Linked DNA regions of Homo sapiens: region 2 is linked to region 1. Evidence: promoter capture Hi-C in 16 types of primary human blood cells and fetal thymus (Javierre and others, 2016). All regions are on one chromosome and are shown on one strand. Each heading gives the region's core, a stretch centred on a gene start or on the middle of the fragment in contact. The rest is flanking DNA. Distances are from core to core; before and after follow the strand shown. Region 1 holds the start of C16orf95 (chromosome 16 open reading frame 95). Region 2 overlaps MTHFSD (methenyltetrahydrofolate synthetase domain containing).

What was found. Contacts are between HindIII fragments. The CHiCAGO score rates a contact against its expected background, and 5 or more counts as called.
Region 2: a contact is called between a fragment that was not itself captured here and the fragment with the promoter of C16orf95 in region 1, in 1 of 17 cell types (M0 macrophages). The highest score is 5.9, in M0 macrophages.

Annotation. Positions count from the first base shown.
Region 1 is chr16:87,315,244-87,320,694 of GRCh38, reverse strand. C16orf95 (chromosome 16 open reading frame 95) reads left to right here and starts at 3,303. Exons shown (of 7, transcript NM_001195124.3): 1 at 3,303-3,604; 2 at 4,872-4,923. The coding sequence starts at 3,453. C16orf95-DT (C16orf95 divergent transcript) reads right to left here and starts at 3,186. Exons shown (of 2, transcript NR_135180.1): 1 at 2,973-3,186; 2 at 2,652-2,838. RefSeq lists enhancers at 3,276-3,725, 4,982-5,451. The HindIII fragment of the contact is 6,644 bases long and covers 1-4,851 here.
Region 2 is chr16:86,540,961-86,546,411 of GRCh38, reverse strand. MTHFSD (methenyltetrahydrofolate synthetase domain containing) reads left to right here. Exons shown (of 8, transcript NM_001159377.2): 6 at 4,199-4,311; 7 at 4,590-4,715. Among named protein-coding and RNA genes, the nearest start is that of MTHFSD, 12 kb to the left of the region's middle. The HindIII fragment of the contact is 2,370 bases long and covers 227-2,596 here.

The DNA of each region.
Region 1 (5,451 bases), core at 2,054-4,553:
GGTGTACTCAGTGTTCTTTTTTTGAGACGGGGTCTCGCTCTGTTGCCCAGGCTGGAATGCAGTGGCCTGATCTCAGCCCACTGCAACCTCTGCCTCCCGGGTTCAAGTGATTCTCCTGCCTCAGCCTCCCCAGTAGCTGGGACTACAGGCATGCACCACCATGCCCGGCTAATTTTTTGTATTTTCAGTAGAGACGGGGTTTCACCGTGTTAGTCAGGATGGCCTCGAACAACAGGAGGCGGAACTACAGGCATGACCAAGAAGGTCAGGACACAGGCGGCTGGAGCCATCCTGCGGGGGATGCCAGGAGCCAGTGCAGAACATGTCCTGAAGTTGTCCTGACTGCAGAGTGGAGTGGCTGGAACATTCACCCCACCCTGTCACTGCTGATGGCTGTCCCCACACATGGGTCAAGCAACTCTCGCAGTTGGAAGGAGCCATTAGCAGGTGAAAGTGAGGCTGTTTGCCTCAGTGGCCCACTGCTTCTCTGCCCTGTCTAGCCAGGTTGATGGTCCCCTCTGGTCTGGTGGTAGCTTCTGCTGCTCAGGTGTCAGGCCTCTCTGCAGGGCCACCACTAGCCCAGGGTGCTCCTGTGTAAGTTCACATATGGCGCTGCTTTGGAGCAGGCTAAGGCCCAGGCTGGGGTGCATGACTTGGTTAGCTGAGCACAGGATAAATGCAAGCCTCACTTGTGTTCTTGGCAAGGGACCCTTGATTAGTGAAGAAACCACACAACTGTGCCCAGGAACCCTGCTTCTGTCTGGGTATAGGCTGCCTGGGGAGGTGTGATCTGGGAGGAACCTGCAACTCTCTCCCTGGGATCAAGGAGGTTCTGTGGGTTTGGCTTGGGTACCCATTACCTTGGGTTCACAAAGATCTCATTCTGCTCCTCTTTCCCTCTACTTGGGGGCTTTGGAAACAAAAGCCTAAAACAGGCAGTGGTAGTGGCCAAACTTCCAGCCTGAAGCACACTCACGTCACAAACTGACGTGTGCTGGACTCTGTCTGGCTTTTTTTTTTTTTTTCCTTGAGACAGGGTCTGGCCCTGTCACCCGGGCTGGATGGAATCATGGCTCATTACATCCTCAACCCCCTGGGCTTAAGTGATCCTCCCACCTCAAACTCCCAAGTAGCTGGGACCACAGGCATGTGCCACCATGCCTAATTTTTAAATTTTTTGCAGAGATGAGGTCTCACTACGTTGCCAAGGCTGGTCTCAAACTCCTGGGCTCAAGAGATCTTCCCACCTTGGCCTCCCAAAGTGCTGGGATTACAGATGTGAGCTACCATGACAGTCCCTGGTTTTTGAGCACCTTTCATGCTCTTTCATATTTGATCTTCTGAAACTTCCTTGGGATTGGTTCTATGGTTATCATTATTTTAGACATAAAACTGAAGCTCAGAAAAGTTAGGCAACTTGTCTGATACCTGTCTCTGATAAGAGGCAGAGCAAGGATTGGGATCTAGGCCTTGTTACTCAGAGCACAGGGGCAGGGTGGCTGGAGTTTCCTTCACATCCCCAGCCTGTGTCATGATGGATTTGCTTTCCTGGTTTTGAACATCACACACATGGAATTGTCTGTACATTCTGGGGTCTGACTTCATTGTACACTTCATCCACATTGTTGTGGGTTGTGGTTGTGTGCCCATTTCCATTGTTGTACAGAATTTCCTCTCTGTGAACATGCCATACTTTCTTTTTAAAATCTTTTTTTCCTATGGATGGACATCTGGATCATTTCCAGTTTGGGGCCATCAGGAAGAAAGCTGCTGTGGGTAGTTTTGTTCATGTCTTCTGGTACACATAAGCTCTCATTTCTCTTGGGTGAGTTGAGGAATTAGTTGGTCATCAGGTATTCATATGTTTAGGTTTTGTAAATACTACCAGTTTGCCAATGTGGTTTTATCAATTTCATGAGCCATGTATGAGGGTTCCAGCTGTGACATCCTCGACAAACTAGGTATTGTCAGTCCTTTTAATTTTAGCCATTCTTGGGTGGGTGAGGGCAGTGAAGAGCTATTCTTGACATGGAATGACAAGACCTAGTGTGCCCGAGGTGAAGGCCTGAGCGTCCAGGGGAGCATGAGCCTGTCTTCTATGCCCTGCTGTGCTATGGCAGTGTTTCAGTGTGCTCTGGAGGAAAACAGCAGAGAAGCCGAGTGCTCCAAAGTGGGCAGAAATGAGACAGGCATAATGTGCTAGGCTAATGGTGACTCTTGGAATTTTGTCATTAGCTACAAAGAGGGCAGTGACATGATTTACACACACACACGGGGTGGGGTATCTGAAATATTAGGCAGCTAGTATGGCAGGGGCACCGTCTAATCAGCATGGATGCTGGCCAGGAGAGGACATGTGTATGTGCTGGCTGGAAACAGTCCTGCTCATAGGTCACGATCTTAATGATTAAATAACAAGGCAAGAAATCCGAGAGGGCAGTGCCTGGGAGCACCCTGTTTGCTCTGTGGCCAGAACGCAGCACACTGAAGTATTGCCCATCAGGGTAAGAGGTGCTCGTGATGGTTTGGGCAAATACAAATATTAATCCAGAGTATTTGAGTCTACATGAAAATACTGAAAAGTGAGGGAAGACCCAACCGTTTCCAAGAAATACAAATTGGAACTGGCGATAACTTAAAGAACATAATCAGAGAGGCAGAGGGCATTGGGTTTTACTAAAATATGAAGACATACGTCCTGTCTCCACGTCAGCAACTGCCCAAAGTACACGCGTTCCAGCGAAAAGAGCGGGTGGGGTGGGGAGGCTCAGGGCCAGCCAGAGCTTCGGTGCTTGCACGCCCAGGCCTCCGGGTGACGACTGCTTCCAATTCCGCGCCCTTTAAACCCCATGTTGTTAAAAAAAAAAAAAAAGAAAGAAAACCTATTTCTCTAAAAGTCACGATTCGAGCCCCACCTGAGGACGCAGCGATCCAGCGCCAACTCATTATCTGAGATAAAGGAGTGATTTTACCAGAAGCGCCTATGCAAGACGCAGGGCCCCGCGCGGGCTGCTCCCACCTCTTTCTCTCCTTGCAGGCTACCGAGACCCTGGCTGGGGCGGCCGGCGGCCCCTCCGGCCCATCCGTCGGAAATGATGAGTGGCTCCAGTGGCCGGGGTCCGCAGGACCTACCCCAGCGGGCATGGCGGGAGCCCCGCAGCCCCACACAGCCGCGCTCTGAGCCGCTGACCCCGCGTCTCTCGTGAGGGACCAATCAGCTGCCAGCTAAGGTCACATACCTAGAAGGCCAATTTTGATTGGCTGGGCGCGGGCTAGTCAGCGGGACGGGCGGGCGCGCGGGCGTTGTTGGGCTCCTCTGAGCGGTTGAGGTTGGGGCTGGGGTTGAGCTCGGGTTGGGTTCCTCCTGGGGCAGGAGGGAAAGGCGGGAGCCAGGGCGTCAGGGCCTGCGGACGATGTGTGTGTGAAAGGGCGCGTCAGCCATAAGAAGCCATATGCGTGCGAGCCGGTCCCCACCGTCCCCGCGGCGTTGTCACCATCATCATGAGGCCACTGGAGCAGCCTCAGGCGCTGCTGCCGGGGGGCCGGGCGCGGGGTGCGTCGGGCTCTGCAGGTTGGCACTCACACCCAGCGCGCAGGATGGCAGGCAAGTGAGTCCTGAATCCTGCCCGCGGCTACCCGACACCTCGCCTGTGAGTTCCCGGCCCGGCATTGCTCCATGACCTATGCACAGGCAGAACTCTTGACCGCCACCCACAGGAACCTCACTTACATTGGCTTAACAAAAACGCAACTGATGGTTCCACATAACTGAAAATGTCAGAAGTAGGCCTTCAGGCATGGATGTATCCAGGTACACATTGACCATGGTCCTGGAAGGTTTCTCTCCATCTCTCAGCTTCCTTCCTTTTTGCTGGCTTCCCTTGTGGAGGCAAGATGATCACCAGGACCTCCTGAGGTTTACATGTTATCAGATTATCAACCTCAACAAAAAGGAGATTCTTTTTTTTCCCAGCTTTCCAGGCTGGGCAGTGGTGAGTTTGGCCCACCTGAACTACAAGGACTGAGATGGCTGTGGCCCCCCCCCTCCCCACCAGGAATATAGCAGTGCTGTCATTACCAGAAGGGGCCTCGGATGCTGTGGAGGGCAGTGCCCCATCCTCTGTTTTCAAGCATTATCTGGGAGAGTTGATGCGTGAACCTATTACTCTCACAAAAATAGCAATAATAATAATGGTTATTATGACAATGAAACCCAAAAACACTTATATCGCTCTTACGGTTTCCACATACAAAGCACTTTGACCCACTACTGTCAGGGAAGCAGGGCTTTGCACCCACTGGAGACGCTTCATCCAGCCAACATTCAAGCAGTTTGTTGGGGAGTGGAACAGGGAAGAGCCACACAGGCTGTGTAACCCCAAGTGCTTTGTCATCCCAGAGACAAAGCACCCGGGTTTTTATAGTGGAAGGAGGTTCATTAATGGACAGTTTGACGATGTTTTTTCTTCAGTATTTCAGTAAGTTGAGGGTGTCTGACAGATCATCCTAGGTGATGTGATTGGCAGCTACATGTCTTGGAAAGTTCTCAGCAGGTTGGAATGCTCCTGTCTTTTCTGATGCTCCAAGCACAAGTGTAGCTGGAGTCAGCTTGAAGCTGGTTGGCTTGGGAATGCAGGATTCCATGACAGCCAGCCCCCAGGAGCCCCTAGACATTCACGCATGAGCTAGCACACGCCTGCTTCTGATGTCACCCTCTCACTCTTCTTGGGCTCAGAGGATCCCCCCATCCCCACCACCCGTGGGCTTTATTATTAAGAGTCAGTTCTGAGAAGACAGGTCCAGGCCTGTGCTCTAGCATCCCTGCCCCCTAGTTTACACAAACCCTAAGCTTTTCTGTTCTTCTCTTCTAGGAATAGCACATTTCAAACCTACAAGAAAGAAGTGTGCCTCCCCCGTCATTCGGTAAGGAAAGCAAATCCTCAGCCACTGGCCCTGACCCCAACATATCCCTGTGGGGTGAGGAGAGCAGGGAATGTGGGTCCAGAAGCTGCATCCCATGAGAGAATCCTCCAAACACAAAAGTGTGGTTGCAGGAGCTATCCCTGGGCCTCCAGAACACCTCCCAGGCCCTCACAACACCTCAGAGTTCAGGAGGCCACCTAATATACCTGCTCTGGGCATCAGCTTCTCCGTGTGCCCCTGGAGGTGATGGCAGCACCTCTCCTTCCTGCCTGAGGGTGTTGCGAAGGTCACATGGGATGGATGTGGAAGCTCTTGCACACCAGAGTGTGACAGATGGCCATAAAGGCAGCACTCATGTGCGCATAAGCTCTAGAGCTGCTTGTACATGCCCATTTTCAGAGGGGACCACGAGACTTGCTCATTGTAGCACAGCAGGAAGCAGCTGAGAATCCCAGCGCACCTGATTTGCAAGCTCCGGGGGATCCCCCTCCAAATGACCTTGGAGGCCTCAGGGCGAGCCACGGTAGC
Region 2 (5,451 bases), core at 162-2,661, 770 kb after region 1:
GTGAAGAATTGGCTCAGCCCACCCGCTTCTGGCCCCAGCCCAACATGTGTACAGCATTTTCACTTTTCTTAGCAGGAAAAACAAAGTGAGATAACTCTCTGTTCAGGTGGTGAAAGGTTTTCTCTCTGTTCTTGAGTGAGCTGGAGCTTAATTTCTTTTCAGTATGTCAGTAAATAGTTGGTTTTGGAGGGACTCCAGCAAATGGAAAAACAGTAGGTTCCAAGCTTTGTTTTTATTATGAAGCAGCAGACTCTTGAACAACACGGTGTGTCCGAGACTCCTGAACAACGTGGTGTGTCCGAGACTCCTGAACAACGTGGTGTGTCCGAGACTTCTTCTCAGGCCTGGTGCTTTGCCACGCTGCATGTGAGGCAGGCTGCTCTCGGTCCACAAGGCCAGGGGGCCCTTGCTAAGAGGGCAGGGTCACCACACCACCTCTTGCTGTCTCCAGCTTCAGGGTGCCCTCTTTTCCCAGCCACCACTGGAGCTGATGTGGGGACATTGTTCTTTATTCTTTGCTTTCAGTGCATTCCCAGTTTCTGGTGCTTCGTCTGTGTCATCGGGGCTGGGGACTCAGGAGCGCACTGTTCTGGTATACCTGCTACACCTGCTGTGTGCCAGGCAGGCACTGGGTGGTCTTTAAGTGCATGGTGTGTGGGTGGGCCAGACACGAGAGCTGGACCAGGACAGGACGTGACGTGCTCAGTGCTGGACACAAGTCAGGACCGACGGGAGGGGGAAGGGGAGTCTGAGGAGGGACGTGCCAGCCTGGAGGGGGCATCTCCTCAGTAGCGGCCTCAGGGCTGGCTCCTGCATGCCGGCCACAGTCCAGGCAGAGGGGACTGAAGGGTCCTCAGGCAGCAGGCCCTTTACTAGGTTGCGGCCCCTTCTCAGCAGCCTTGAGGCCAGATGATGGGACTTGGGCTCTTGGTGGTGGGAAATCAGCAAAGGTCCCCTCTTGGAAAATATCATCAGGTTCAGGGATGTATAAAGAAGAAAGTAACACTTCGTAAGTTTCATCGTTTAGCTAACCCCCTGTGTAAAGTAGTAAAGTAACCATGTGTCTGCTTAGAAAATTGAACAGCACAGAAAGCTGCACCATAAGTCTTCCCTGTTCCTTCCCAGCTGCCCCATTAGGAGTTCCTAGTGTAGACGTTGTACATAGTAGCATGCGTGTGAGACACAGATATCTTTTTTTTTTAAGTTCCGGGATACATGTGTAGGATGTGCAGGTTTGTTACATAGGTAAACGTGTTCCATGGTGATTTGCTGCACCTACCAACCCATCACCTAAGTATTAAGCCCAGCATGCATTAGCTATTTTACCTGATGTTCTCCCTCCCACTGCCCCTGCCCTGACAGGCCCCAGTATGTGTTGTTCCCCTCCCTGTGTCCATATGTTCTCATTGTTCAGCTCCCACTTACGAGTGAGAACATGCAGTGCTAGGTTTTCTGTTCCTGCGTTCGTTTGCTGAGGATAATGTTTTCCAGCTCCATCCATGTCCCTGCAAAGGACATGCTCTCATTCCTTTTTATGGCTGCATAGTATTCCATAGTGTATATGTACCACATTTTCTTTATCCAGCCTATCGTTGATGAGCATTTGGGTTGATTCCATGTCATTGTTATTGTGAATAGTGCTACAGTGAACCTACATGTGCACGTGTCTTTAGAGTAGAATGATTTATAATCCTTTGGGTATATACCCAGTAATGGGATTGCTAGGTCAAATGGTATTTCTGGTTCTAGGTCCTCTAGAAATCAGCACACTGTCTTCCATAATGGTTGAATTAATTTACCTTCCCACCAACAGTGTAAAAGTGTTCCTATCTCTCCACAGCCTTGCCAGCATCTGTGGCCATTCTGACTGGCATGAGGTGGTGTCTCATTGTGGTTTTGATTTGCATTCCTCTAATGATCAGTGATGTTGAGCTTTTTTCCATGTTTGTTGGCTGTATAAATGTCTTCTTTCGAGGAGTGTCTGTTCATGCCCTTTGCCCACTTTTTATTGGGGTTGTTTGGGTTTTTTTCTTGTAAATTTGTTTCAGTTTCTTACAGACTCTGGATATTAGACCTTTGTCAGACAGATAGTTTGCAAAATTGTCTCCTATTTTGTAGGTTCTCTGTTCACTCTGATGATAGTTTCTTTTGCCGAGACACAGATATGTTATAGCAGTGGTCCCCAACTTTTTGGCACCAGGGACCGGTTTCATGGAAGACAATTTTTCCATGGACCAGGGAGGGGACGGTTTCAGGATAATTTAAGCACATTACATTTATTGTGTACTTTAGTTCTGTTATTCCTACATCATAATAAATCACAGAGTAATTATACAACTCATAATAAAGAATCAGTGGGAGCCCTCAGCTTGTTTTCCTGCAACTAGACGGTCCCATCTCAGGGTGATAAGAGACAGTGACAGATCAGCAGGCATTAGATTCTCATCAGGAGCACGCAACCTAGATCCCTGGCATGCACCATTCATACGAGGGTTTGCACGCCTGTGAGAATCTAATGCCGCAGCTGATCGGACAGGAGGCGGAGCTCAGACAGTAATGAGAGTGATGGGGAGCGGCTGTAAATACAGATGAAGCTTCACTCTCTCACTGCCCACCTCGTGCTGTGTGGCCCGGTTCCTCACAGGCCATGGACTAGTACTGGTCTGTGGCCCAGGAGTTGGGAACCCCTGTCTTATAGTTTTTAGGTATAGATGTATAGATATCCCTTTTCTGCATTCACAGAAGGGACGGTGGCACACACAGAGCTCCGTGCCTTGCTGGAGACTGTGTCTTAGAGCCCCTTCCTGTCAGCACTGCGGGCTGGCCTCCTGGGCCCGTGTTGAGGAACTGCACGGTGTTCTCACGTGACTGCACCTCAGTAACTGAAGCCCACCCCCGCCGATGGATGCATACGTTATGAGTTATTTCCAGATTTGGCTTTGGTCTTTTCTCTTACAGACCATGTTGGAGTGAAGTATGTTCTGTGGGATAGTCTAGGTGCACCTTTGGGGCTATCCATGGGGGCCAATGCCTCGGAGGGGAGTTGCTGAACTGAAGGGTGGATTGTCAGCCTTGATGTTGCCACCAGAAGGGCCGCTCACTTTCGGCCCTCAACAGTGGTGCCTGGCCTCTTTTCCCGCTTCCTTGTTCCTAGCTGGAGTGAGCCAGCTTTGACTTTGAGCAGTCCGCTAGTGAGCAGTGACTAGCATCTCCTTTGCCTTTGATTTGCACCTAATTAGGAGGCAGTCAAGCATTTTTCATGTTTGCGGCTTATCTGCCTGTCATTTTCTGTGAACTGTTCATATCCTTTGCTATTTTTCTGTTGAATTTTCTTTCTCTTGTTTCTCTGCATGCACAGTTGAAGGTTTTGAATTGTCAAAGTAGCTTGATCAGATGTGAGTCTTAGACACGGCAGCAGTGATGCGGGTGCTCTGCGGGTGATGCTGCTGGTGGCACTCGCTGGCCTCAGTTTCTGAAGTGCCTCAGGCTTCTCATAAGCGGAATTGTAGCTTCTCCATGGGGGCCAGAAGGCATTTGATGTATCCTGTCTTCCTGCATTTTTGTCTCTGAATAGCTGATTTGGCTAGAGAGGCTGTTAAACCTCGATTTCATCTTAGCTACTCTTTTAGGCTCAGATAATCCTTTTGTTGTGCCACTAATTACAAATTTGCAAAACGCTTTAGTACTGCTTAAACCGTCCCTCAGGACCTGGTATCTAGTGGTGAGTATTCAGTGCTTTTGAAGAAACAAGGCCATGCCCTCACACACTCCTGACTTCAGAGCAGCGATTTTCCCTCCGAGGTAAGTTGATTAAACATGTTTTGCTTTCAGTGGGAATTTGTTTTTAGTCTTTTTGAGAACTGCTCTTTTCATTCTTTTTAAGTATGAGTCTTGCTAACATAAAGCTGACATGAGTGTGATCTGTTTCCCTTTGTGACATGCTTGAACGGTCCAGTGTTCACGTCATTGTAGTTTCACCACCTGACATTGGCCGTGTTGTTATTCCTGTTGAATGCCCAAAAGTCCATCGTCAGTGTGGGCTGCTTGTGGGCATTTGGTGGGCATTTCTGTGAAAATTTCTATAGATTAGCTCGGGATATTGGGTTCAAGTTTCTTCTTCCACTGGACCTGATGGAAAATCCACTTCTCAGCGATGCCCCGGACCGCACAGCGATACTGATTCTCGGTTGTCTCTTAGGCTGGAGAATCGGGAAGGGAGAAGGCTACGCCGATCTGGAATATGCCATGATGGTATCCATGGGCGCCGTCAGCAAGGAGACGCCGGTGGTCACCATCGTCCACGACTGCCAGGTGCTCCTTATGAATGGGCTGAGCAGAGCCACTGCCATTCTCTTCTGAGGGAGCAGGGGGTGGGGAAGGAGACTCATCTGCTTCTGAACCATGCTGTGTGGCGAGTGGTGTGGATCAGCCAGGGCTGGACTTGCTAGTGGTACAGCGGCTAAGCCTTAGCCCCAGAGTGGATTTGGGGGTGCTTCTCTAGCCAGCCTCACGTTCCCACCGAGCGGGGCAGTGTGCACGACTGCAGTGGCATTCCCAGCAGCCCCTTTATCCCTCCTCTCTTCCCCCAGGTCGTGGACATCCCTGAAGAGCTTGTTGAGGAGCACGACATCACTGTGGACTACATCCTCACTCCAACCAGAGTCATCGCCACAGGCTGCAAGCGCCCAAAGCCAATGGGAATCACCTGGTTCAAGGTGGGTCACGGCAGTGGCCAGCTCTGGCCTGTAGCTTAGCGGCTCCTCCTCTTTTAAGTGTTTTCTGTCTGGCATGGGAGCTGTTGGCAATCCCAGCATGGCTGTATGTTAGAATCACCCAAGGAGCTTTTGAGCAATTTGGCTCCTGAATGACCATGTCCAGGCCCAGGCCTAAGAATCTGCGTATGGATCTCTGGGATTCGAAAAAGCAGCTAGGTTTAAAATCTGCCTCTGTAGATGGCAGAAATGGCCACATGGGCTGGGAGGGTGAATGCCTTGAAGCTTTACTTGCCCCCTGTTTTTCATTTTTAAGAGTTGTTTTCTGCCATCCCAGGCGCAGCAAGCTCTGCCTGGTGTTATCTCATTGGTCTTCCCTTTTTAAATCCAGATTTTTTTTTTTTTTTTACTGACGATCTGGATCTTCAAGCAGATCTAGCCTGAGTAGGAGGCAGTACCAAGCCTTTGTACATTTTATGCATTTGTGGTTTTTATCTCCAGATTAGGTAATGGCACAGGTTGCAAATTAGTCTGCAGTAGGAGTTTGACCCTGCAAATCAGCCTGTAGGTTATGATGCTGTCTCTGCTGGCAAACAGCCAGAATTACTGAGAAGACATTTGTGCTTCGTGTGGACAAAACTACTGGTCAAATAAGCATACGTGTCCACGTCTCCCATTCTTTAATCCCAAATCATTCACCGTTTGAATCCCTCCTTTGGGCATGGAAAATTAACAACAT